7 separate regions of the Homo sapiens genome follow, and regions 1, 2, 3, 4, 5 and 7 are each linked to region 6. The links are contacts of gene promoters, found by promoter capture Hi-C in blood cells and fetal thymus (Javierre and others, 2016). All regions are on one chromosome and are shown on one strand. Each heading gives the region's core, a stretch centred on a gene start or on the middle of the fragment in contact. The rest is flanking DNA. Distances are from core to core; before and after follow the strand shown. Region 1 has its middle 16 kb from the start of MIR3142HG. Region 2 overlaps SLU7 (spliceosome associated SLU7). Region 3 overlaps MIR3142HG (MIR3142 host gene). Region 4 overlaps PTTG1 (PTTG1 regulator of sister chromatid separation, securin). Region 5 overlaps TTC1 (tetratricopeptide repeat domain 1). Region 6 holds the start of HMMR-AS1 (HMMR antisense RNA 1). Region 7 overlaps FAM200C (family with sequence similarity 200 member C).

What was found. The method cuts DNA at HindIII sites, captures the fragments that hold promoters and counts their contacts. A CHiCAGO score of 5 or more calls a contact.
Region 1: a contact is called between a fragment that was not itself captured here and the fragment with the promoter of HMMR-AS1 in region 6, in 2 of 17 cell types (activated CD4 T cells and naive CD8 T cells). The highest score is 9.6, in activated CD4 T cells.
Region 2: a contact is called between a fragment that was not itself captured here and the fragment with the promoter of HMMR-AS1 in region 6, in 1 of 17 cell types (total CD4 T cells). The highest score is 5.8, in total CD4 T cells.
Region 3: a contact is called between a fragment that was not itself captured here and the fragment with the promoter of HMMR-AS1 in region 6, in 8 of 17 cell types (non-activated CD4 T cells, M0 macrophages, activated CD4 T cells and 5 more). The highest score is 11.5, in non-activated CD4 T cells.
Region 4: a contact is called between a fragment that was not itself captured here and the fragment with the promoter of HMMR-AS1 in region 6, in 10 of 17 cell types (naive CD8 T cells, non-activated CD4 T cells, total CD8 T cells and 7 more). The highest score is 25.3, in naive CD8 T cells.
Region 5: a contact is called between a fragment that was not itself captured here and the fragment with the promoter of HMMR-AS1 in region 6, in 1 of 17 cell types (total CD4 T cells). The highest score is 5.5, in total CD4 T cells.
Region 7: a contact is called between a fragment that was not itself captured here and the fragment with the promoter of HMMR-AS1 in region 6, in 2 of 17 cell types (naive CD8 T cells and non-activated CD4 T cells). The highest score is 8.4, in naive CD8 T cells.

Annotation. Positions count from the first base shown.
Region 1 is chr5:160,450,738-160,454,430 of GRCh38, forward strand. No RefSeq gene overlaps it. Among named protein-coding and RNA genes, the nearest start is that of MIR3142HG, 16 kb to the right of the region's middle. The HindIII fragment of the contact is 7,393 bases long and covers 1-3,693 here.
Region 2 is chr5:160,409,637-160,413,574 of GRCh38, forward strand. It overlaps SLU7 (spliceosome associated SLU7), which reads right to left. Exons shown (of 16, transcript NM_006425.5): 5 at 3,820-3,938; 6 at 2,815-2,883. Among named protein-coding and RNA genes, the nearest start is that of SLU7, 7.5 kb to the right of the region's middle. The HindIII fragment of the contact is 2,367 bases long and covers 1,163-3,529 here.
Region 3 is chr5:160,476,410-160,480,046 of GRCh38, forward strand. All of the region lies in intron 1 of MIR3142HG (MIR3142 host gene), which reads left to right. Among named protein-coding and RNA genes, the nearest start is that of MIR3142, 3.8 kb to the left of the region's middle. RefSeq lists enhancers at 1,080-1,628, 1,213-1,507. The HindIII fragment of the contact is 574 bases long and covers 1,195-1,768 here.
Region 4 is chr5:160,428,609-160,432,533 of GRCh38, forward strand. PTTG1 (PTTG1 regulator of sister chromatid separation, securin) reads left to right here. Exons shown (of 6, transcript NM_004219.4): 6 at 1-131. The coding sequence ends at 73. Among named protein-coding and RNA genes, the nearest start is that of PTTG1, 8.7 kb to the left of the region's middle. RefSeq lists an enhancer at 3,822-3,911. The HindIII fragment of the contact is 153 bases long and covers 1,677-1,829 here.
Region 5 is chr5:160,056,918-160,060,536 of GRCh38, forward strand. The region is part of intron 7 of TTC1 (tetratricopeptide repeat domain 1); the gene reads left to right. It also overlaps a transcript of PWWP2A not described here. Among named protein-coding and RNA genes, the nearest start is that of TTC1, 50 kb to the left of the region's middle. The HindIII fragment of the contact is 5,431 bases long and covers 1-3,619 here.
Region 6 is chr5:163,492,160-163,496,157 of GRCh38, forward strand. It overlaps HMMR-AS1 (HMMR antisense RNA 1), which reads right to left and starts at 1,899. Exons shown (of 4, transcript NR_109892.1): 1 at 1,540-1,899; 2 at 1,284-1,390. The HindIII fragment of the contact is 5,178 bases long and covers 1-3,802 here.
Region 7 is chr5:160,390,356-160,394,197 of GRCh38, forward strand. It overlaps FAM200C (family with sequence similarity 200 member C), which reads right to left. Exons shown (of 2, transcript NM_022090.5): 2 at 2,793-3,842. The coding sequence ends at 3,351. Among named protein-coding and RNA genes, the nearest start is that of FAM200C, 7.8 kb to the right of the region's middle. The HindIII fragment of the contact is 4,404 bases long and covers 1-3,597 here.

The sequences.
Region 1 (3,693 bases), core at 1,137-3,636, 3.0 Mb before region 6:
AATATCTCCTTATTGGAAAGCCGGATGTTCATAAAGCCTTGATAAATAGTTCAGCCGCTTTATGCCTCACGCACTCAAATCATTACACAGTGTATGACTATATAATAAAACCATTGGTCCTTGGGGAAAACATTTACTTTCAAGTCGCCTAGAGACTTTCCAAGTTTCTGCTTTTCAAAGACTGTGTCTGAATTATGCAAAACTTTCCCCATTACCTCCAATTTTCAGGGGTCAATATTCTTATTATGGAAGAAAACACCTGGTGTTTGCTGAAAAAGACTTTGCTATGGAAATCTTTATTAAATTATTAAATTAGATGAATCGGTGGCAGAGTGTTTCTTCTTATCACTCTTTTGGTGAATCTAGTCCAGCCAGAAGAGGCATATCCAAGAGGACCAAGGGACCCTGGTTCTGAGCCAATGATGTTGGACCTGCCACTTGACCCCCACGGCAGCCAACAAATGGATTTGTAGCAGCCTGAGAAGGGGCCTGGCATCTAAGATAGGCTGGGCTATTGGAGCCTCTCTTTACTGATAATTTTTATTTAAGAGATACCTCAGAGGGCTGAAGTTGTGAGAAATCTGGAGTGGTCTTGACACAATAGGTGAAAGTTGTGCTTTTTAGTGCACATAGAAGTCACTCGAGATGCGTATTTAACAAGCCAGTTCCTAGAACTCAGCCCCAGAGATGCAGATTCCATTGTTCTGGCATGGGGCTCAGGCACTGGTACAGTGTTTTCAACCAGTCCCTGAGTCATTCTTATGCATCTGGTCCAAGACTACATTTTTGGCCTTTAAAAAAAAATTAATGTTGTTTCCTATAATCTCATTTGTTAACTTATTTTCAAGGCTGAGCACACTGGCTCATGCCTGTAATCTTAGCACTTTGGGAGTCTGAGGCAGGAGGATCACTTGAGGCCAGGAGTTCAAGACCAGCCTGGGCAACAGAGCAAGATCCCATCTCTACAAAAAAATAGAAAAGATTAGCGTGGTGCTGCATGCCTGTAGTCCCAGCTACTTGGGAATGTGAGGTGGGAGGATTGCTTGCCCAGGAATTTGAAGCTGCAGTGAGCTAGGATCAGGCTACTGCACCCAAGCCTGGGCAACATAGTGAGACACTCTCTTGTATATATATGTGGGGGCGGGCGAAGGGGTGGGGGGAGAGAGAGAGAGAGAGAGAGAGAGAGATGCAAGAATAAGAACTTCTGAATACTTTTAAACCAGATTCACCAACTGTAAACATTTTGCCACATTTGCTTCTCTCTGTCTCATTACACACACACACACACACACACACACACACACACACCATATACATTTTTGTAAACTATCTGAAAGTAGTTTGCACATATCAAGCCCTTTTATTCCTAAATCCTCTAGTATATATTTCCTGAGGATAAGGCTAAGGCTATTCTCTTACACAATCAAAATATGGTGATCAAATTCAGGAAATTTAACAATACTATTGTCTAATCTTCAGTCTGATATCACCAGTTACCCTGATAATGTCCTTTAGATAGCCCAGGGCCCTATCTAGAGAGGAGGGAGACTGAAACTCCCTGAAAACAGCTGAATCACAGAGACTCAAGGCAGACACTCAAGGGCAAGGACCTCCTGCTACTTTTCCTTGGGGCCTCCTTGGATTGAGGGCCAGCATCTCCAAGACTGACCTCTGGGATGTTTCTGTTCCTACTGATGCCCCACTGAGGGTCTTGGGTTCCCCTATATATACGCCTTATTACTTCCATAGCACATTCTCCCCCATCTCCATTGCTTAAGGCAAGCCCACAAGTCTTTATTATTTGCAACTGAGAGTAGGAAAGGAAAGAGAAAATAAATGGAGAGGAAGAGAGTGGGATAAGTAAGTAGTGAAACAGCAAACCAAGCTATTTTGCCCTTATAAACCTAGAAATTGCTAGATGACCTTGGACAAGTTACATAACATTTACAAGCATCAGAACCAACATCAAAATTAAACTGGCTCTTACTGTGTCCTAAGGGTGAGACAAGGGTTTTAAGAACTGAAACTTGGGAGCTATTATGATTGGCAAATGGAAGGATGGGAAAAGTCTACAGATAAGGTTCTGTACTTAAGAATGACCCACTTTGTCATACACGTATATCTACTTTCATATGGATATTTGCACAAGGGTTTCTTTTTTTTTCTTTTTTTAAGAGGGGGTGAAAGAAGGAACTCAGTGCACATGACATTGGTGGGGCTGAAATAAAAAACCTCGATTTAGAAATCTGATACAAAAGCAAAGTCATCGTTTTCAAATCAAAACTTGGCTCTGCTTCATTGGCTTGCCTCGTGCTTCTGCACAGGCTTTCGGGGGAGGCTTCCAGGCACATGTGCCTAGAGGCCATCCTTCTAAGTGTGCACACTGGAGCTGTAAGGGCAAGGGTGGCTGCTACCTCACATTGGCACTGAGAAATATCCGGAGAGTGACTCCTTGGCATGAAATTCAAACACCTTATGTGGTGATCTGGTCCCACTTCAGCCCACTCCTCATCTCCCATCCTCCATCCAGCCAAATTCTACCTCTGTAGCTCCTCCACCTCTCAAGGGCCATCATACTTGCTGTTTTCTCTGCTTGAAAAAACATTCTTTCCGGTCTTTGCCTTCTTAAATCCTACTTCCGTTTCTGTGCTCAGCTTTGAAATAACTTCCTATGTTTCCAAGGAAACCCAAACTTGGGGTAGGTGCTCCTACTTGAAATCCCAGTATCCCATGAATTCTCCTGTCTGAGCATGACTGTGATTGTCCATTCACCTGCCTGGACTCCCAAGTCGATTTTATGGTCTGTGAGATCAAGGACTGTGTTTTCTTCACTGCTGTATTTCTGGCTTATAACACAGCAGTTGATACACAATAGGTGCTCAATAAATATTTATTGCATGAATGAAAGAGAAGCAGGCTCAGGGCTTCTGACAGGTTGCAAATTAAAAATAAAAGAGTAAACTGTGTTTGGTAACATGACACAAACCCACTTGTACCCCCATTTCCACCTCCACCTGTCAGGGAAAACTCAGATTTATTGCATTAACTGGAAGTCTGGAGTTGGTCTTTAACTTATTCCTTACCTTCTCTAGCTAAACATCCAACTGGTCACCAAACCCTAGATAGTCCACATCTTAGGGTAACTTAGGTTCTTTCTCATTTCCATTCTCACTTTTGTTGCCCTCCTCACTTCCTTGTTGGGTCAAGAAATTCCATTGTTCCTCAACCTTCAGCATCTACTTTGTTCTAAAAGCTCCTCATCACAGGATTTAAAACTTTACCAAGATTACCCCACTGGTCTCCCATGATGGAGGTACCCATTCCGGGTTCTTGGCCATTCCTTTGACATATTTACTGCTGCATTCTCTTAATTCATGTTGCTTCCTTAGCAAGGAAGTCCTGTTTTCCCTTCTTTCCGCCCCCCTGCTCCCCCTGCCTATTGAAGTTTTACTTATCTTTCAAGGCTTAGCTCAGACTCCTCTTCTAAGCATTTTAATTCTCCGAATCTAATTTGTTCCTGTGTTCAGATAGCATGTTTAGATAGGGAGGAATGGTGAGTTATCAAAAACGAAGAGGTTCCTGATTTTGAGAAAGCAAGTAGAGTTCAAATAGAGGACAATACCTGTCATAACGTTGGCTCACACTTGTCATACTTGTTCCCATTTACTAAGAACCAGGGATGAGCATTTCACC
Region 2 (3,938 bases), core at 1,096-3,595, 3.1 Mb before region 6:
TGTTGTATATGTGCAATGTTTTTTCAAAACACTGGGAAAAAATCAAATTAATAGATCACTGGTTATATAATGTATTGCACTCCATGGAACACTGAACGGCCATTAAAAGTGATTCTATCCAAGGGGCAGAAAAGTATGTATCGTTTCCTAACTTTTTTGATTAAAAAAAGGGGAGGGGAGAGACAGATAGGATAAGGGTATATATTTGTATTTGTATTTATTCAAGACAGTCTGAAAGGAGCCACACACATACACAAAAGAGTTGGGGCGAGGGGAAGTTTAGTGTTAGGGTGGATAGAAACAGGGGTGGAGAGACTTCGCTGTGCATCTTCTTAAATTGTTTTAATTTTTGAGCCATGTGAATTCATACAAAAATAAATGATGCTATAGGTCTATAAATATAGACAGAAAACACGTTCCCACTGTACTCTATGTTGTTAAATTAAAAAAGAAGGTAATAAATGAATATATAAAGATGGATTCATGTAAGAAACATTTTGTATTCTAGCACACATGAACAGGTATATGTGGACAAGAGAGACCTGGAAAGGCCTACTTCAAAATGTTCACAATTAACACAGGGATATTTTCTTTTTTATATTATGTTCTAATTTTTTTCCACTTAATATGTGTTACTTTCAAAATTAGAAATATAAATATTTTGTAAAAAATAATTTTTTTGAGTTCCCACTATTTGCTAGTTCACCAAAGACATTTACATACATTTCTATAGTGACAGCTAAGTCTCTAAATCTACTGTATGTGGTTCATCTTAATATCCAAGCATCCTGGGAGCGGGGAGAGATAGCATTAGGAGATATACCTAATGCTAAATGACGAGTTCATGGGTGCAGCACACCAACATGGCACATGTATACATACGTAACAAACCTGCACGTTGTGCACATGTACCCTAAAACTTAAAGTATATAAAAAAAAAATAATCCAAGCATCCAAGTGGGCAAAAATCATTAGCCCCTTACATACATTAAGTATCCTTACTGGGGAAATAAATTACATTACGTTTACAACAAACAACAGAGAATACATTAGAACAAAAGAAACAGGCCCTTTTTCTTTTCCCAAAGTTAGTAATAAATAAAAATAATCACAACAATAATAGCTACTAATTACCCAGTGTTTACTATGTGATATGTATATAAGCTTCCTGGGGGTAGGTGTTATCATTTCTATTTCAGACATACTAAACTGCAGCTCAGAGAGGCAAATTCACTTTTTTTTTTTTTTGAGACGGAGTCTCACTCTGTCGCCCAGGCTGGAGTGCAGCGGCATGATCTTGGCTCACTGCAAGCTCTGCCTCCTGGGTTCACCCATTCTCCTGCCTCAGCCTCCCGAGTAGCTGGGACTACAGGCGCCCGCCACCGCGACTGGCTAATTTTTTGTATTTTTTAGTAGAGACGGGGTTTCACCGTGTTAGCCAGGATGGTCTCGATCTCCTGACCTTGGGATCCACCCGCCTTGGCCTCCCAAAGTGCTCGGATTATAGGCGTCAGCCACCGCGCCCGGCCGGCAAATTCACTTTTCTAAGAGCATGTATGTCTCATGGAGCAGAGATGGATTTTGTTATTGATTGACTGATTGACTGATTGATTGAGATAGAGTCTCGCTCTGTCATCCAAGCTAGAGCACAGTGACGTGATCTCGGCTCACTGCAACCTCTGCCTCCTGGGTTCAAGCGATTCTCCCGAGTAGCTGGGACTACAGGTGCTCGCCACCACACCCAGCTAATTTTTGTATTTTTAGTAAAGATGAGGTTTCACCATGTTAGCCAGGCTAGTCTCGAACTCCTGACCTCAGATGATCCACCTGCCTCGGCCTCCCAAAGTGCTGGGATTACAGGTGTGAGCCATTGTGCTCGGCCAGAGATGGATTTTAAACACCTATCTGGTAACTTACAATGTTAACTTGCCTGGTAGGTTACCTTAGTAACTCGGTAACTGCTTACTTGGTAATTATTTCAAGTTCTGTTTGCTTTGTTACTTATACATGGTTTAGAGTCCCTTTTAGAAATTTAAACTAAAAAACTATAAATGTTTACTATTTATTTGTGCCTAGATTTGTTAAAAAGAAACTTGACAACTCTAATATGCATAATATATTTACTCTATTGACAAGGATTTTTAAAAAAGAAAAAAAAACTGGCTGCAATAGACCTTTCATTCATATAAAAAATGTTTTGCCCAGTTATATAACTAATACATATTCATTGTGGGAAATGCAGAAAATACTAAAGAAATAGAAAGAAAAATTCATAAATTCTACATTAAATAAAAACTAGTGTTCTGGTCTTTTTTTCTGTGTGATAATATTATACTATCTTTTCATGTATTATTCAAATACAAGTGTTAACCAGTGTTGTTAATGAAGTCTTGAGAAATGCCATTTTAAGAACTACACAGCATTACACCATGCAGATGCACTTAACCAATTCCCTGTTCCTGGACATTTAAGCTATTCCAATTTCTTTACTATTGTGAAAAATGCTGTACTATCTTTATGCATCATGATTTTTCTAAACTCTAGAAAATTCTTTAGGATGGATAGCTTTAATAATTTAACTTGAAAAAGTAAATGTTTGTGTGTGTCTAAATATAAATAGTGGCAATATTGTTCCCAAACTGACTGCATCAATTTATATTACTATGAACTGTATACAAAGTATCAGTTTTATTTTTCCCCCAATAGCATTTCTCTCTTCCTAACTGAAGAGCTATAAAATGAATTCTTGTTTCAATTTTCATTTCTTTGTTTAAAAGAAATAAAACCTTTTTATTGATCATTTTCATTACTTACAGCCTGTTCCACTAATTTTCCTGAGGCTAATTCCTCTTGGAGTTTCTGGGCTTTCAATGTTCGTTTTGCCTTTAAAAAAAAAAAAAAGAAAGAAAGAAAGAAAAAGTAAACATTTAAATTTTACTTACAACATTCAAGTCACCACCTAAATTTTTATATATTTAAAATGAATAACTTTAAATTAATTTATTTCAGAAAAGGTCACTGAACAAACCTATCTCTTTGGGATTCCTTGTAGCCCTAGACCTATTACTCTATAAAGAGCAGGAGTTACACAGTGTTTGAACCAGGCATTAATGTAAACTGAGCCAAATGGCATCAGTAGTAAATTGCAGGGAGCAAGCCCTGACAAAAACAAGCAGTTGCCACAGAACTCTAGATGACTGACTCTTACCAGGCAGGCGTGGGGTTACCATATATTACAATATTCAAGAAAAGATGAAATCCAGATTTTTATATGAAATCTTATAATTTTAAAATGATACCTCTAATTAAAAAAAAAAGGCAGTGTGACTATGACTTCAAAGGAATAAGGGTGAATAGGTCAAATCATAACAGTAAAAACTGAAGTTGGGTTAAAATAAAATAAAATTTTCTGAAACAAATTATCCATTCCCTTTCTACTACTCCCAAATGCTATGGGAGGCAACTATAAAATAGGTTCATGGGCAAGCTATAGCTTGGGGCCATACATTTCTAACCTCACAAAACCAAAAGCTTTGGACACTAATCTGTCTTCATGCTTCCAATATCTTTTGCTACCTAAGTCAGGGAGTAAAGGACCAATATAAGAATCAAATAAGAAGAAACTGCTGGCAAGTATGGCTAGCACACTATTTCCTTTACTCAATATTACAATTATAAAGGTAGCCTATACAGTAGTACTACTATTATAAAAATGCTACCATTTTTAAAGTGCTTCAAGATTTGAAAAGTAGAGCTGCTAGAGATACAGCAAAAGGACGATTCTTTAAAAACCCCAGGAAAGCAGGGAATTTTGCTCACCAAATCAACTTTGGCATACTCTTCAACAATTTTCATGTGTTCTTCTGGATTGTAGCCATTCCACCGATCCCTCTTCCCATCATAGTCAAACATCAGTTGAGGCTGGACATGTTCATCTG
Region 3 (3,637 bases), core at 232-2,731, 3.0 Mb before region 6:
GACTGGGAGCTTGTGGGAGGTCATCTGAAAGATACTGTGGTCTTCCGAAACAGAATATGTCAGTCAGGCAGAGGATGGGAAGATGACTGAGGACGGGAGGGGAACTTTCAGAGGGCAGAGAGAAGGAGTGGTTAATCATAATAAAAACATAGAATTTGTTATTATAAAATAATTACTCAAGAAGTGTTTTCTAATTGTCTACCATGTACCATGCACTGCTGTTGTGGGACGGGGTAAAAAGAGGCGGAAAATGTGATATCTACCTTTGAGAATTTCACAGTCTCACAGGACTTGCACCTATGGGTGCAAGACCCTGCAGGATCACATGTTAAATTGCGTGATTGGATGACAGATGTGTGGGATGATTTTTTACCCTCCTCCCAGCTGTTTTCCACACCCAACCAAAATATCTAAAAAATACAGCCTGGATCACATTCCTTCTGTGTTTCCTCTGTCTTTAGTTAAGGTCAACTCCATATTTCTCAGCAAGGCCAACATGAATCGGCTCTTGCCTTTCTGGACCTTCCTCTCCTCATGCCATCCCTAGTCTCGTTATTGACCTCAGTAGAGGAGTCTCTCTCCGTCCTCACAAGTGTGCCTGGTCACATCCTATTTGTGACCATTTGGACATTCTGTTCCCTGTGCCTGGAACTCCCTTTTACCTGGTCTTTGCCAGACCATGCTCTACTTATTCTTCAGGGTTTCTCCTTAAATGTCATTTCTTTCCAACTACCAGGTGCTTCATAGAATCTTGAGCTTTTCCACTGGTCGCATTTATCACATTTGGGCTCACTTATCTGTGTGATTATCAGTGAGATTTCAGTCTCTCCTGTTTTGTGATCTCCATGGACCATGCTGGTCTTGTCTGTGCTGCAACCCCAGGATCTAGCACAGGCCCGACACATGCAGCAGGTGCTCTGTAAGTCAGTGATGGGTGAATGGATGAGCAAGGAGAGGTTCCACTGGGTCAGTGCAGTTGTCCTTTCGAAGCACTTTGTTGCTCCTCCTGGAGCCCTTGGTGTGTTGAACTTAGCATCCTGTTTGTCTACCCTCACATCCTCATGAGCTTCCAGAGGGCAGGGATTGAATCATCATCATCTTTTCATCTGGTTCACATAGGAACTCAGTGCAGGTTGTAGGATGAAGGAAAGAATAAACTGTGTACGAATGGAGCGGGCCTTATCTGGGTTTTAAAGCTTGCCTGGGGAGGAAGGTGGAGAAAAAGTGAATTCAAGGATCCAAAATAGCAGTGGGAGCCAGGATGCAAAACAAGAGTAGGGTTTTGTTTTGTTTTAAAGCTGAAAATCTGCATTAGAAAAATACCGGATAGTCACCAGACACAGCATGACAGGATGTACTCATGCTACAAAGATGGGAGGGTTGAGTGGGGGGAGGCTTGGAATTTCCCCAGCTGAACTTTATACCTTGAACAATGTCCATCTTTCAGAGCTTGCTGCTCTCCTCAGGAGTTTTATCCATTCAACACATTTTTATCAAGCACCTATTCCATGGGGAAGATATGCCTCCCCTCAAAGAGCACGAAAATTGGCCCTTAGGAGGTGAAAAAAAACTCTATGTGTAAAGCACAAATATACATACAGTATATATAGACATATAATATATCTGTAGTGTTAACATTTCATAGTGGGGGGATTAGAAAAAAAAAAGTCTGAAAAGGTTCCTTAGAAGGATGATAATGAAAAAAAGATTGAGAAACTGACCTACTCTGTGCCAGGCATTCTTCTGGTTAAAGGGCCTACTCCCATGAAGCTTTCACTCTTACCAGGCAGAAAGACAGTAAACAAATAAGTAACTGTAAACTAATAATAAATTGTATGAGGCAGAAAAGCAGGCAAGGGGCTGGAACGTTTGGGGGATGGGTGGGGCATGTCTGTGTTTCCTTTAGGTAGAGTGGGTGAGGGATGGACTCTGATGAGGTGAGGTTTGAGAAGAGTCTGGAAGAAGTGACAGGTGAACAGTAGAAATATTTTGGGAAAGAGCATTCCAGGAAAAGGTAACAGCTTGGTGCAATTAAGAACAGCAAGGAGGCCAGGTGGGCAGGAGTGGATGGATGAGGGAAGGATGGTAGAAAATGCGATTGGAGGTAGAGGCAGGGGCCAGATGACATGGGCCTTGTAGGCCATGCTGAGGGGTTTGGGTTTTGTTCTCTGTGTGATGTAAAGTTGCTGGAGAGCTTTATGCAGGGGAGTGACATGATTTGATTTATCTCTCCTTTTTTTTTTTTGAGACAGAGTCTTGCTCTGTCTCCCAGGCTGGAGTGCAATGGCATGATCTCGGCTCACTGCAACCTCCGCCTCCCAGGATCAAGCAATTCTTCCTGCCTCAGCCTCCCGAGTAGCTGGGATTATAGGCACCCTCCATCATGCCCAGCTAATTTTTGTATTTTTGTAGAGACAGGGTTTCACCATGTTGGCCAGGCTGGTCTTGAACTCCTGACTTCAGATGATCTGCCTGACTGGGTTTCCCAGAGTGCTGGGATTACAGGCGTGAGCCACTGTGCCTGGCCTCTTTTTTTTTTTTTTAAATACTTTAAGTTCTGGGATACACGTACAGATGGTGCAGGTTTGTTACATAGGTATGCATGTGCCATGGTGGTTTGCTGCACCCAGTAATCTGTCGTCTAGGTTTTAAGCCCCACATGCATGAGGTATTTGTCCTAATGCTCTCCCTCCCCTTCCCCCCACCCTCTGACAGGCCCCAGTATGTGATGTTCCCCTCCCTGTGTCCATGTGTTCTCATTGTTCAACTCCTACTTCTGAGTTATCTTTTAATAAGATCCCTCTGACTGCTATTTGGAGGGTGGACTGCAGAGGCAGGAGTGGAATCAGGAGACCTCACTGTTGCAGATCTCCTAGGTGGGAGCTGATGGTGGCTTGGGTGAGGGTAAACAGTTAGATTCTACGTGTACTGTGAAGGCAGAGCTTGCAGGACCTACAGAGGGATCGAATGAAAGTTCTCCTTTCTACCAGCTGCTGGCCTCTCTTGTGAAGGCCAGGCTGAGTACATGTTTATCTAGCATTCTGCAGTTACTTATTTTTCATCTGTATACCTTGCCACCTTATCTAGTCTTTGAATTCCTTTAGGGAAGAAACCATTTTTGTTTATGTCTCCAAGAGCCAGACAGTGGGGCCGAATGGTCAAAAGTGTTAGTTGTATGTGCTAGGTGGATGTTTTAACTGCTTAGCTACTGCTCTTCCTCCTCCTTCTCTTCTTTTTGCTTCTCCTCATCTTTTTTAATCGAGTGAGGATGGCAATGGCATTTCTTTATGGCTTTTGAGAGTGAAGTGAGATTTGTGTGAAAGTGCCTTGTTGGCTGGTTGTGGTGTCTCACGCCTGTAATACCAGCACTTTGGGAGGCCGAGGTGGGTGGATTGCTTGAATCCAGGAATTTGAGACCAGCCTGGGCAACAGAGCAAAACCACCTAAGTTGGAGCACTTTTCCCCTTCCATGTCTGGTTTTCCTTCATGTGAAAGGGAAGGCAACGCTTACTTTAAAAAGTGGAAACTCTCAAATAATTTACATTGTATTCTAAGTGGTAAAAGGCCACATTGAGGGTGATGGAGAAGCCATTACATGTCACTTGAGGGAAGTGAGTGTCTCTAGTGAATCATTATG
Region 4 (3,925 bases), core at 503-3,002, 3.1 Mb before region 6:
GCAGTCTCCTTCAAGCATTCTGTCGACCCTGGATGTTGAATTGCCACCTGTTTGCTGTGACATAGATATTTAAATTTCTTAGTGCTTCAGAGTTTGTGTGTATTTGTATTAATAAAGCATTCTTTAACAGATTCTTCCTAGTATTGTGGTTGCTTTTCCATGGAGGTTACTTAAAATAACATGAAAGCTAGCTGAGGTGTTTAACAAAGAGTCTATAATGTGACAATAGAGATTTGTCTGATGTCTAAAAACTTAAATCTTTTTGGTTTAACAGCTTATTTTAGAAGCTGCCACTGTTTTTTCCTGAAAAGTATACCCCTCAATGTGTACTTTATTGACTTTTTGTGGCCATTAACTAGTGACAGTTATTAGATCTCTTAATTAGAAGAGCTACTTCCAACTCATTAAGTATCTATTGCTGGGCATTCTTTATTGCCGGTTCTACTTAGTTTCTAATGACTTTAATACTCAGTATTGAAAGGCTCTAAATCTGAGAATTCAGCCTCCTTGGGATCTTCAATTAGATTCCTTAAAGATCACTGGAGATAATTTACTGATAGTAAGGTCTACACTCCACCTATAGGAAACTGTATTTAGTTGTTTACCTTGTGTTGGACATGAGTATTTGAGAAGCATTATTATGTTTAATGTTTGACACTTTCCCAGGTAAGACAATGAAGCGCAGAAGTTCATTGATTTGTCAAAGATGTGAAGAGCTAGAAAATTATTAGAGCTGGTATTTTGATCTCAGTTCTGAGGTTGGAATCAAAATAGAGATGGCAAATGGTTGCTCATAGGTTTTCTTTTTGAGGGAGGGGGTGGATATTTTAAAAACCTTAATCATTTCCACTATTTAAAATTCCAGTGTTTCACCAATCTGGCTTTGGAGATTCTCTTGAAAAGAGATGTGTCCATAGTAGACCCTGTTTCCAACACTTGCTGGGGCTGGAGGTAGATTGCAGGCTGCTGCCTTTTAGGTGGAGTATAGGCTTTCTATCCCACAGACCCTGCCTTAAATGGCCTCAGTGAGAACTGAAGTGATCCTTTTACCTTTCATGTCTCTTCTGAGACCTAGCCTACTTAACTCACTTTACTCGCTTGGGCCATGTAGTAACCTGAATTTGACCCTTGCTTGATGCTAAGTTATATAAGAAGTCTTTCCCTTGATATATCAGTAGCTTCTATGGTCAAGTTAGAATGTGAACACTTTGCCATTGTCATTGGAGGAAGCTGAAGGATATTAGGCATGAAATACTAAGAACACCTACAACCGCTTATCCTGACTTTAAAACTTTTTACCTTCTAAATACAACTGAATCAGTGTGACTTTCTGGAATTAGTGGAAAGGCAGACTTCTAGGAGAAGATAATACCATAAGACTACTAGGGCACTTGGCTTTAGGGGAGAGTAATAGGTTTAGCATCCTCAGGTAAAATAGGGCTGCTAAGAAAACCAAAGTATAGGTTGGACACAGTGGCTCACACCAGTAATCCCAGCACTTGAGAGTTTGAGGTGGGAGGACTGCTTGATCCCAGGAGCTTGGGTTCAACCTGGGCCATGTAGTGAGACCCTTGTCTCTCAAAAATTAAAAATAATTAGCCGGGTGTGGTGGCGCATGCCTGTAGTCCTAGTTTCAGGAGGTTGAGGCAGGAGGATTGCTTGAGCCCAGGAGTTCAAGCTTACAACTTGAGTGGCTATAGTCATGCCACTGGGTGGTAAAGTGGGTGGTAGAGTAGCCTGGGTGGTAGAGTGAGATGCTGTCTCACAAAAACAACAAAAAAAGCAAAGTGTAGTTCTGAATGGCTTTCATACTCTGCAACACAAACTGAAGCTTTGGAAAATTGTCTTTTGTGGTAGAGGGAACCAAGGGCTGGGAGCAAGGGGACTAGTCAGTCCCTTACCAGTTAATTGCCGTCCTCTGGGTCAGAACTGAGTATAGAGGGATCTGATCTTTTCATCTGCTGTTAATCAGATTGCAATGTGCATAATGTGTGCTGAGACTGAGAACTTTAAGCAGATGCTCCTCCATTAATACAGATAATTTGCATCTTGTGGGGGTTGTTGCTATTTTGTTCTGACACTTTTTGAAATAAGACAGACTTTATTCATACCTTTACAACTCTGTAAACCTTCTGCATTTCTCTACACTACCTCTGAGCCTGCCTCTCAGGATACTGTACCTTCTTATAGTAGGAGCTAACAGTCAGGAATGCCATTATCTTGCTACCATTTCTTCTTTCTTATTACAAGTTGTATTTTTCTACTTTCCATGCCAGCCATGGATTTTACCTTTTTTCATGCTGGGTATTTTTACATTTCTATTAATATTCTTAAACTTTGTTCTAGAGTATGGGTAAGGTACCTAGAAGCAATTTGATTCATTTGAGACTTGCCTTTAATGTTAGGCATCACCAGAGCAGCATTTAGCCCAGGGCTCATTTCCCCCTACTACTGAAGTGTGAGATGCTTAGGACTCTGCTGCCCCCTGAATTATGAGGTTTTCCTGTCTAGCTGGTGGGAGCAGACACTATTCCCAGCCCTGTGTGGGCTTCAGGAATTCTTCCCTCTGATCTTTTCAGCTATATGGATCAGTGCTCTTCTGAATACTACAGGGAGACCCTCTGCAAATTTCCAGGGTTCTCTCTGTGCAGCTCTCTCCTCTCCAGTGCTCTGCTCTGCAAACTTGGCCTGCCTTGGCCTGACTCTGCTCTGTCTCTTCAACTCAGGAAATTCACTGGGCTCTGCCTGCCTCCCTTTCTTCCCCACTCTGAGGCCTGGAAACTCAAAAGTAGCCAGTAAGGATAGTCATCGGCCTCACCTCACTTATTTCACATTCCTCAGGCATCGCTGTTCTCTGTCGCCTGATGTTCACTCTTTGGGCAGCCCTCATTTCATATATTTTGTCTTGTTTTTTAGTTTCAGGCAGGAGAGTAAATCTGGTCCCTGTTACTCCATCTTGATTGGAATTGAAAGTTCCTTCTAGATATTCCTTTCATTTTTTTTCTTTTTTGAGACGGAGTCTTGCTCTGTCGCCCAGGCTGGAGTGCAGTGGTGCAATCTTGGCTCACTGCAAACTCCACCTCCCGGGTTCATGCCATTCTCCTGCCTCAGCCTCCCGAGTAGCTGGGACTACAGGCGCCCACCACCACGCCCAGCTAATTTTTTTTTTTTTTGTATTTTTAGTAGAGACAGGGTTTCACCGTGTTCGCCAGGATGGTCTCGATCTCCTGACCTCGTGATCTGCCGGCCTTGGCCTCCCAAAGTGCTTGGATTACAGGCGTGAGCCACCATGCCCGGCCTTTTTTTTTTTTTTGAGGTAACATTCACATAAGAAAATTCATTTAAAAATGTACAATTCAGTGGCTTTTAGTTCAGAGTATATGCAACTATCACCACTGTCTAATTTCAGAACACTTTCATCACCCCCAAAAATAAACCCATGCTCATCAAGCACTCATTCCCCACTTCATTTACTTTGGAATGATGTCCCTCTGCCACCAGGATGAAGTCTGAGTTGCTCAGTGTGGCTCACACGGCCTTGTGGTGGCTCCTTGGGGGTGTAATTTCCTGTCCTGATTCACCTGGCCAAACCTGTCCATCTCTAGTACTCCAATGAGATGCTTTTCTTACCAGAAGCCTTTGCACTTACCATGCTCGGCTGTGTCTGGTCCTCTCCTCCGCTCTACTGGGAGCAGGATGAGGTGTGTCCTGTGCACTGGTGTATTCTCTGCCTGGCATGTGGCAGGTGCTTCAGGGACTTGCTGAAATGAGTAAAGATGTCATCAGTCCCTGGGGATCCAGGTTTCTAGAGACCCAGCGACTGCACTGTACCCACTGTTAGCATCACACGGTATCAGGGCCAGGGAGCCTGACTTCAAGGTTTCCAGAGAGAGAGTGGTGGGGGCAGGCACAGGTCTAGGAGGTC
Region 5 (3,619 bases), core at 547-3,046, 3.4 Mb before region 6:
ACTTGTTACCACCCCTCTTAAAGCTGCTGAAGCCATACATGTAGGTACAGAAACCCAGTCTTTTTTTTTTTCCACATTTCTCTTCATACTATTCTGCCTGATATCTGTCATTACAGACTGTACACTTGCAGGATTTTGCACTCTGGCCACATGGCACAAGAAACCAATTCCTTGTTGTGGTTGGTTGTTCCCTCAGTAGAGAATATCAGTAGCTTTTCAGTGCTTTGCTTTTGTCTTCATTTCCTAATTGCTATCCTGAGGCTTCTCTTAGGAGAATAGTTCCCACTTCTTTGAAAGTTCTTGGTAAGGCTTCTTTCAGCCCTCGAATTTACCCAAGGTCAAATACAGGCGTACCTCAGAGATGTTGCAGGTTCAGTTCCAGACCAGCACAATAAAGCGAGTCACAAGAATTTTTTGTTTCCCAGTGCATACAGAAGTTATGTTTATATAATACTGTAGTCTACTAAGTATGCAACAGCACTGTGTCTAAAAAAAAAAAATGTACATACCTTAATTTTAAAATACATTATTAAAAAATGCTGACGATGAGCCCAGCCTTTAGGGAGTTGTAATCATTTTGCTGCTGGAGGGCCTTGCCTCCACGTGGATGGTTGCTGACTGATCAGGTTGGTAGTTGCTAAACATTGGGGTGTCTGTGGCAGTATCTTTAAATAAGATAGCAAGGAAGTTTGCCACATCAGTTGATTTTTCCTTTCATGAAAGATTTCTCAGTAGCATGCAGTGCTGTTTGATAGCATTTTACCCACAATAGTTCTTCCAGTATTGGACTCAGTCCTCTCAAACCCTGCTGCTGCTTTATCAGCTAAGGTTATGTAATATTTGGGGGTTTGTGCGTGTGTGTGTGTGTGTGACACAGAGCCTCATTCTGTCGCCAGGCTGGAGTGCAGTGGCACAATCTTGGCTCACTGCAACCCCGCCTCCTGGGTTCAAACAATTCTTCTGCCTCAGCCTCCCAAGTAGCTGGGATTACAGGTGTATGCCACCACACCCAGCTAATTTTTCTATTTTTGTAGAGATGGGTTTTCACCATGTTGGCCAGGCTGGTCTCGAACTCCTGAACTCAGGTGATTGGCCTGCCTCAGCCTCCCAAAGTGCTGGGATTATAGGCGTGAGCCACTGTGCCCGGCCAGTTTATGTAATATTCTAAATCCTTTGTTGTCACTTCAACAATGTTCACAACATCTTCACCAGGAGGAGATTCCATCTCAAGAAACCACTTTTTTTGCTCATCCACAGCAAGCAACTCCTCATTCGAGTTGTATCATGAAATTGTAGCAATTTAGTCACATCTTCAAGCGCCACTCGAATTCTAGTTACCTTGTTATTGTCACCACATCTGCAGCAACTTCCTCCACTGAAGTCTTCACCCCCTCAAAGTCATCCATGAGGGTTGAAATCAACTTCTTTTAAACTCCTGTTAATGTTGGTATTTTGACCATCTCAGCAGCCATAGCCATATGAAGTGTATTTCTTTTTTTTTTTTTTTTTTTGAGACGGAGTCTCGCTGTGTCGCCCAGGCTGGAGTGCAGTGGTGCGATCTCGGCTCAGTGCAAGCTCCGCCTCCTGGGTTCACGCCATTCTCCTGCCTCAGCCTCCTGAGTAGCTGGGACTACAGGTGCCCACCACCAAGCCCGGCTAATTTTTTGTATTTTTTAGTAGAGACAGGGTTTCACCGTGGTAGCCAGGATGGTCTTGATCTCCTGACCTCGTGATCCACCCACCTCAGCCTCCCAAAGTGCTGGGATTACAGGCGTGAGCCACCGCGCCTGGCCAATGAAGTGTATTTCTTAAATAATAAGACTATAAAGTCAAAATTACTCCTTGATCTGTGGGCTGTAAAATGGATGTTGTGTTAGGAGGTTTGAAAACAACTTTAATCTCCTTGTTCATCTCAGAGCTCCTCAGTGACCAGGCACATTGTCAGTGAGCAGCAATTTTTTGAAAGGAATCTTCTTTTCTGAACAGTAGGTCTCAACAATAGGCTTAAAATGCTCAGTAAATTATTCTATAAATAGATGTGCTGTCATCCAGGCTATGTTGTTCCATTTCTAGAGCACAGGCAGAGTAGATTTAGCATCATTCTTAAGGGCCCTAAGATTTTTGGAATGGTAAATGAGCACTGGCCTCAACTTAAAGTCACCAGCTGTATTATCGCCTAACAAGAGAGTCAGCCTATCCTTTGAAGCCAGGCATTGAATTATTCTTTCCTGTTGCTTTGAAAGTCCTATACGGCATCTTCTTTCAATATAGTGCTGTTTTCATCTACACTAAAAACATGCTTAGTGTAGCCACCTTCATCAGTGATCTTAGCTAGATCTTCTGAATAACTTTTTGCAGCTTCTATGTCAGCCTTTGCTGCTTCACTTTGCACGTTTATGTTATGGAGATGGCTTCTTTCCTTAAAGCAGTTTCCTCACTCAACCTTGGTAGGATTGAAGAAAGTTAGGGCCTTGCTGTGGTAATCCAAGGCTTTGGCTTAAGGGAATGTTGTGGCTGGTTTGATCTTCTATCCAGACACCTAGAACTTTCTCCATATAAGCAATAAGGCTGTTTTGCTTTCTTATTCATGTGTTCATTGAAGTAGCACTTTTAATTTTGTTAAAGTCTGGCTCTTCCCTTTACTTGAACACTTAAAGGTCATTACAGGATTATTAATTGACCTAATTTCAATATTGTTGTGGCTTAGGGAAGAGGGAAGCCTGAGGAGAGGGAGAGATACAAGGGAATGGCTGGTCAGAGGAGCAGTCAGAACATGCACCGCACTTACCATTTCAGTTAGCTGTCTTATGCGGGTGCAGTTCATGGCACCCCAAAATAATTAAATAGTAACCTCACAGATCATTGATTACAGATCACCATAACAGGTATAAGAATAGTGAAAAGGTTTGAAATATTATGAGAATTACCAAAATATGAAAGAGACATGAAATGAGCACGTGCTATTGGAAAAATTGTGCTGACAAACTTGCTCAATGCAGGATTACCACACATCTTCAATTTGTAAAAAACACAATATCTGTAAAGCACAAAAAGCACAGCACAACAAAATAAAGTCTGCCTGTATAAGAATTTCAACTGGGCATGAATTTTATCCTTTCTATGCTGGGCTCTCTTGATTTGCCTTTTGCTCGGAGAAAAGCTAGAGTTAGCTGCATGCCTTAGTTTCCTGCCTCACAGGAGGAAATGTGGTATTAGGATTTAGTTGTATGCAATTTGTTTCATCTGAACAGAGGAGAAAGTCCCAAAGGAGCCATTCCATCGAATCCATGCCCGAGTGATCTTAAGGAGATGAAAACACAGCATTCCTGGTTATGCTCAGGGTAAACTGCCTGATGCACAGTCAGTATCTCCAAAGAGAAATTATGTATAACAAATCAATTGGGTTATGGTGATATGCTACTTGGCAGAGAAATTAATATTTATCAACTGAACCCAGTGGCAAGCACTCGGATCCCTGTCTCTAAACATTCTGGTCTAAGCACGAGTAGTTCTGTACTCTTCTCTTTGCCATGGGATCTAGTCTGATAGACGAGATCCTAATAGTTCAGGACATGTGGACATATTCAGGCTGAGTGATGGTGCCACCTGTGCTGTAGGT
Region 6 (3,998 bases), core at 649-3,148:
AGGGACTATCAGTCAGAATTGCTTTTCATTATTATTTTATTAGATCTTAATACATGGTTGAATTTTAAAATACAGTTTTTTAAATTAAGTTCAGAAGAAACGTAGAAATTAGAAAAATTGTCTAATAAAATAAAATGGTTTAATGGGCTGGGCCCAGTGGCTCACGCCTATAATCCCAACACTTTGGGAGGCTGAGGCAGGTGGAATTCAAGACCAGCCTGAGCAACATAGTGATACCTCATCTCTAAAAAATATATAAATAAATAATAAAATGCTTCAGGACCTCTACTTTTAGCCAACATGGGGTAACAAGATGAACAACCAGGTGCACTGCCCAAAGTTCTGCCCACTGGGAGGATTTCTCTTTACCACTATCCTTCAGGGATGTCCCAGAGAAGGGCTGGTGTACTATGGCTATCCACTTTCAGGTGATGCCTACATATCACACAGAACCATCTATAAACTAGGCCCATGTTGTTTCTTCCTGTCAACTCATCATAGGGAACTCTCCATGAGCTTGGGAGAAAAAAGGCAAGGTAGCAGGAACAGGGACCATGGGCATTTGGGTCACTTCTTCATGTAACTTGCTTTTGCCTTCAGGTCCTGCCTGGGCCCAGTCACATACATAACACGTTCTTTGATGATGTACTCCTGCTGTCCACACCCAGCATTATGGCTTGTGGGTCAGATAACACCCAGCTCATGATGGGCAGCTCAGGTCGCATGGTAACTTAATTGACCACGGTAAGCATTCAGTCCCTACTGAAGCCCAGCAGTAGGCCCAGAGCTGTTTCTCAAAAGAGTAGTTATCTGCATAGGATAACAGGTCTTTCTTCAAAATACTAAGGGTCTGCACTGAGATTCATCTATGTGGGCCTGCCAAAGGTTCCAACAGCATCTCTATCTGCCACTGACACTTCAAATACCACTGGATCTGCAAGTTCATATGTCCCAAGCAACAAAGCCGCTTACACAATAGCCTGGACCTATTGCAGAACCTTTCCTATTCTGAGTCCTACTCCAAACTAGCAGCTTTTCAAGTCACTCAGTAAATGGGCCAGAGTAACAAACTCAAATGAGGAAACGTCTTCAAAATCCAAAGAGGCCTGCCGCATGTCATGCCTCTTCTGGTTGTAGGAGGGGGCAGATGCAAAAACTTACCTTAGAAGGGGTATCTCAACATGCCTCATACCACTGGACCCCTAGAAATTTTACTGAGACATGAAAAAGCCTTTGAATTTTTGTTGGATTTACTTCCCACTTCTGACATGCAAATGTCTTACCAATAGGTCTGGAGTAGTTGCTATGTCTCACTCATTAGGTCCAGTGAGCATAATGTCGTCAATGTAATGGACCAATGTGATGTGGAAAGAAAAGGCAATCAAGATTCCTGTGAACAAAATTAGGACAGGGCTGGTGAGTTGATATGCCCTGAGGTAGGACATGAAGGTGCATTTCTAGCCTTGCTAGCTAAAAGCAAACTGCTTCTGGTCGGCCTTATAGACAGGGATGGAGAGAAAGGCATTTGCCAGATCATACCAGGTAGCTGCATACCAGGAACCAGGAGTTGTGTTAATTTGCTCAAGCAATACATCTGGTACTGTAGCTGCAATTGGAGTCACCACCTAGTTAAGTTTGTGATAATCCATCTGTCTTCTGCCCAGGCTAAATAGGCGAGTTGAATGGACATATGGTAGGAATCACCACCCCGCCTTCCTTCAAGTACTTATGGTGGCACTAATCTCTTCAGTCCCTATAGGAATTGAGCATTGCTTTTGGTTTACTATTTTCCTAAGTACAGATAGTTCTAGTGGCTTCTACTTGGCCTTTTCCACCATAATAGCCCTCACTCCATAGGTAAGGAAACCAATGTGTGGATTATTCTGTCAGCTGCTGACTGTATTCTAATTATACATTCTAGAACTAGGGGATAACCACAGGATAGGTTCAGGAATTCACTGGGCCCATTGTGAGATGGAACTAAGCTAAAACTCTGCTGATCACCTGACCTCCATAAGCTGCTACCCTGACAGTAGCACTTTGGATCTCCTGAAATTAGTGTCACTTCAGAGAGCCAGTGTCCACTAGTTCACAAAAGATCTGATTATTCCCTTTTTCTAATGCACAGTTACGTTGGTAAAGGTTGTACATCCCTTTGCGGAGGACTAGGAGAAAGACTAACAGTATAAACATTTGGTTATGGACCAGGGTCCCTTTGAGGTCCTCCCCTTCAATCAAAGGGTTTTGGGCTCTATAAAGTGGCTCAAGTTTGGGAATTAAGGGACCACGATTCTGTTTTTATGATTCGAGTTCAACTTTCGTCACTTGACTTAGAAGTTTTCTGCTTATACAGATCAAGTTAAGACTTCAGTAGGCTTCCTATCTATTTCACGTCTAGGAAAACCATGATCAACTAGCCAAAGCATAGGTCTACAAGTGAGATTATTCTAATTGTTCCTTTGGCTCTGTCATTATGATAACCACTTCACCTTGCCTTTGGTGGTTGAGTCCCATTACTTGACCCTTGCCACCCTGGGATCCTTTACTTCCATTATATTTAGGTTTTCCAGTTCAGTGACTGCAGTGAGCTCTGGCCTACAGAGAAGAGCCATCACAGAGTTCTGAAAAAGATGCTGGAGCTCTCCTCGCAAATTTCTTTCTCATAGTATTGGTGAAAGGTATGCTTTCTTGACCTTCCCAGTGTGGATGAGTAGTTCTTTTTTTTTTTTTTTTTTTGAGACGGAGTCTCGCTCTGTCGCCCAGGCCGGACTGCGGACTGCAGTGGCGCAATCTCTGCTCACTGCAAGCTCCGCTTCCCGGGTTCACGCCATTCTCCTGCCTCAGCCTCCCGAGTAGCTGGGACTACAGGCGCCCGCCACCGCGCCCGGCTAATTTTTTGTATTTTTAGTAGAGACGGGGTTTCACCTTGTTAGCCAGGATGGTCTCGATCTCCTGACCTCATGATCCACCCGAGATGAGTAGTTCTTAAGTGAAAAATCTAATTTCCCAATATTCCTAAACCTTTTAATCCCATCCTCTAGATTAAACCAAGGCATGTCCAGCACTTCCAATTCATCTTTTCCATGTTTTAGTAAGCCAATCAAACTGTGAGCACCCTTTCTAACTCCCCAAGCTGCAATGTTAAATGCAGAATCTTGGCTTAGTGAGCCCATGTCAATAAATTTGACCTGATCCAACTTTATGTTCCTTCCATCATTTTCCAACACCTTTATTATCCATTCCGACATATGTTCCCAGATTTTTGTCTGTATAAATTAGAGACTTTGAGTAACTCTTTGGAGTATAGCACATCTCTTCATAGGTAACACTTTGTTCCTGTCTAGTTTCAGGTCTAGAAGCAAAGAAGGGTGGTGGAGTTGGGTCTGGAGGAGAACCAACATTGTCTTGCATATCAACTGCCTCAAAGGAGGCCATTACAATTTCCTCAGGCAATGCAGTGTTAATCATCACAGACAGGTTGGAGGGTACTATCACTGGAAATGGAGAAGCTGCTTCCAATGGGGTTGAGAAGCCTCTCCACTAGCAAAGAAGACTCATCAGAATTTAGGGGCTTAATGTCCCCAGCTTCATCAAGGTCTTCCCATATGTCCCAATCCTAATTTACAGAATCCCATTTTTTTTTCAGTAAGTGCCCTCCTTTTGACAATAGTCACTCTGCAAGGCTGGAATTCTAATTTGTGTTGTAATTCAGCCAGTCACAGGATGAGATGCTGTGTTTGATTTTCAACAGTCTCAGCTCTGGGGCTACAGGAGATAGGGTTTTCTTCAGGGTGCACATAGAAGCTTTCAGATTATTTATGGAGCACTTGAGCTGGGAATAAAAATCCCTACACTCACTTTTGCACCACTTTATCCAGTGACATTAGAAACAACCAACTGTCCTCATTATACTCATTATGAGGCAGAATAGGTAGTCAAGGAAGTAAACATGCCCTTGGTATGCAGCAACTGTGGCTTACTGCACCACATACTTTAAC
Region 7 (3,842 bases), core at 146-2,645, 3.1 Mb before region 6:
TGAAACCCTATCTCTACTAAAAATACAAAAATTAGCTGGACGCAGTGGTGGGCATCTGTAATCCCAGCTACTTGGGAGGCTGAGACAGGAGAATCTCTTGAACCCGGGAGTGGAGGTTGCAGTGAGCCGAGATCACGATCACACCACTGCACTCCAGCCTGGGTGACAGAATGAAACTCCGTCTCAAAAAAAAAAAAAAAAAAAAAATTGAGATATAATTCAAGTATCATCAAGTTCACTCTTTAAAAGTATAAGTTAGCCGGGTGCGGGGGCACATGCCTGTAACCCCAGCACTTTGGGAGGTCGAGGCGGGTGGATCACGAGGTCAGATCGAGACCATCCTGGCTAACATGGTGAAACCCCCTCTCTACTAAAAATACAAAAAAATTAGCTGGGCGTGGTGGCGGGTGCCTGTAGTCCCAGCTACTCAGGAGGCTGAGGCAGGAGAATGGCATGAACCCAGGAGGCGGAGCTTGCAGCGAGCCAAGACGGCGCCACTGAACTCCGGCCTGGGCGACAGAGCAAGACTCTGCTTCAAAAAAAAAAAAAAAAAAAAAAAAAGTGTAAGTCTATTTGGTTTTGCTTCCCATTGGCTCATGCCTGAAAATGCTGACCTATTATTTACTAACTTTCAGCAGTTTTTGGTGGCTTAGACAAACAGTGAGGATGTCAAAAATGCACACGCTTGTATTACAGAAAAAGTCATTGATATTTTCTTTCCCACCTGGGTTTCCCAGTGATTTCTTGCAGTCTCATGGTTACCGGCTCCAACAGAGTTCTGCCTGCCAGTTTTCAGTCCACAGAGGCTCAGGTAAGGAATTTTAAATTTGAGCCACTAGTACCTTTTCTAGAGATGTTTAAAATCAGCTATTTGGCAAAATCTGTAATGTGAGTAAAGTTGCTTTCTCATTCAAACCTATACAGAGAGTGACATCTGCTGGTCATGAAGATTATGTTTTTATTCTATTTTACTCCTTTTCAAAATTTATCAATGACTCTAAAATAAAACATAAGAAAAGTAATTATCTCTTCTTTGGGAAAAAAGAAACCAACACATGACTAAAAATTCCAATATATGTACCACTGTGGGACATTTTTAAACTAAAAAAAATTGAAATTCCTTCATTTTAGCAAACACTGCAGCTCTTTCATTTGATCAGGAGAAAATAAAATTGTTGTAGAATTTGAAAATGAATAAAAATCCTAGTTAGCCATTTCCTTAAAAATGTCCTTTGAGTTTTTGTTTCAGAGCAGCAATAACTAATTTAGTCTAAGACCTAATGAAAGACTGGCTATCAAAGGTCATTTAATCCTGGTCCTTCTATCATACTATTAAATCCTAGGTTTCATACATGCCCATGTCCCTATTCCTACCTCCTTCCTAACTTTAGAATTGCATACAGATTAAACTTTATATACACACATCTAGATTTTTTTTTTTTTTTTGAGATGGAGTCTCACTCTGTCACCTAGGCTGGGGTGCAGTGGCACAATCTCAGCTCACTGCAACCTGTGTCTCCTGGGTTCAAGCAATTCTTCCGTCTCAGCCTCCTGAGTAGCTGGGATTATAGGCGCATGTCACCATGCCTGGCTAATTTTTGTATTTTTAGTAGAGGTGGGGTTTCACCATTTTAGCCAGGCTGATTTCGAACTCCTGACCTAGTGATCCGCCCACCTTGGCCTCCCAAAGTGCTGGGATTACAGGCATGAGCCACCGCACCTGGCCTACACATCTAGATTTCCATATTAGCTTTGGAAATTTTTCTGTCTTTGATGTTAGATTGTAATAGGAAAATTAGGACCTATATTCTGTTACTACATTTTTCAGTGAAAAAAGGTGTGTATTTATACTTACTGATAAAATATAAACTTTGATTTGCGTACTAATGTGGCATCTAAATTTGGTAGTCAGGTTCCATTTCCCTTCAGGTTTATTTTTTATTTTTCAGTATTATAAAAGTGTTCTGATTAGCCACCTTATAAGTAAAACTTTTGGACATTCCTGATTCTTTCCACATGATAAATTTATAGAGGAAAAATTCTTAATCAAAGGGCTATAAATAACCAACAAAGAGACTAACATTAGTGTAATAATAATAAAAAATTGAGAGTAGTAGGAGATGGATATTTTATAAATTCAATCCTTACATATTATCTAGGGGAGTCAATATATAACTTTTAAAGCTGATTCAACTGCTATATGTCATGGTATGAACATACTACTTAAGAGATGTGGGTGGAACCACAAGAAATTACAGAAGAAATGGGTAATTGGGCAGGAAGGGGATTGTGGCTTTTCCTTATAGGACTCTCTATATCATTTTTTCCCAGCCTTGAGCATGTAGTACTTTGATAAAATATTAATGTTTAAAAATAGAAATGAAAATTTATTTAAATTAAAAAATATTTTGCCAAATTATCATCCAGAAAAAGTGTGCTAAGTTAGATTCCCATGGGGAATTTTTTGATGGTCTTGAATTACTCCATTGATTTCATGTCAATTTATTTATGATTTATACTCTGACATTTTGAACTTAGAAAAATACATATAAGATGTAATATAAGTGACAAAATTAGGGTAAAGGAAAAATAAGTATAGGAAAAATTGAACCCAGAGGACCCAAGAATCCAAGAATCCATCAGAACAGTCTGGAAAGCTGGTTATGAATGAGGATCCTTGACCTTATCACAGGCCTACTAATCACAATCTCTAGGGTAAGGCTCAGGAATCTCCTTTTCAGCAGCCTTGATAACTTGGAGTTCTGAAGTAATTTAAAGATGACAAACAGTGATTAATATATTAGGCTATTTATTAATATGATATTCATAGCACAGGAGCTAGGGGAATGGACATTGTGAGACTAACTCCAAAGAGTATATTTAAAAGTAAGTCTTACATAAGCCAGATCATTCCTTTTCCCATTATATTTCATAATCCTCTTCTGATTTCATTAACCTCTCCATAACAAAGACGGGCGAACTCAATCTTTCATTTTGCCTTTTTGACTTCTGGGATATCTTCTCTTTTCTCCTGGCTCAATTCCTAGCCTATTGCACCATTTAGCTGGATATTCTAGTGCTTAGGTATCTTTTTCATATACCACACGAACAGGTTAAACAGATACTTAGAATTGGGAAAATCTCATGATAGCAACTAGGCAGTAGTACTTAATCTTTTCTGCTGTGTTTTTATTCTCAAAACATATTTTCACATGCCTCATTCAAAATTAAAGTTCTTAAGTTTTTTAGACATAGAATTCAGTATATCATAAATATGAAAGAGACAGAATTACAGCTTAATTTTACAATGATATTAAGATTGAAATTATTCATTAAAAAAGTATATCAGCTTACAGTGACTTCTGCTGTAGCTGTAGCTTTTGTTCAATGATGTCCGAGAAACGAGGAACTTTTTTTGAAATAGCCACACGGATATCATCACTCAGATTAAAGCAGCTTCTGGACTTTGTTTTGAAATGTAAAAGTGATGAAAATCCCAACTCACAAAGGTATGTAGTTGCAAATGGCATAAGGATTTCTAGAGCTGTCTTTGCCAGGTTTGGAAATGCTGTGAATTGGGCACACCAGAAATCCTCAAGCTTCATTGTCTCAAATTCCATTAGGATTTGGCCACTAGCTCGTAATTCAGCAAGATCATTTTTCATTAAATAACTATCATCAACAAAATCGATATTAAAAAGAAATGGATCCAATATCCATTTACTTGCCTCATTAAGATCTCCAATGGAAAAATATCCATGGAAGAAGTTGCTCAATTGTTGCAGATGCAGTGTTATTTCAGCTGCAATGAATATGCCTTCATTATCTGAAACAATTATTTC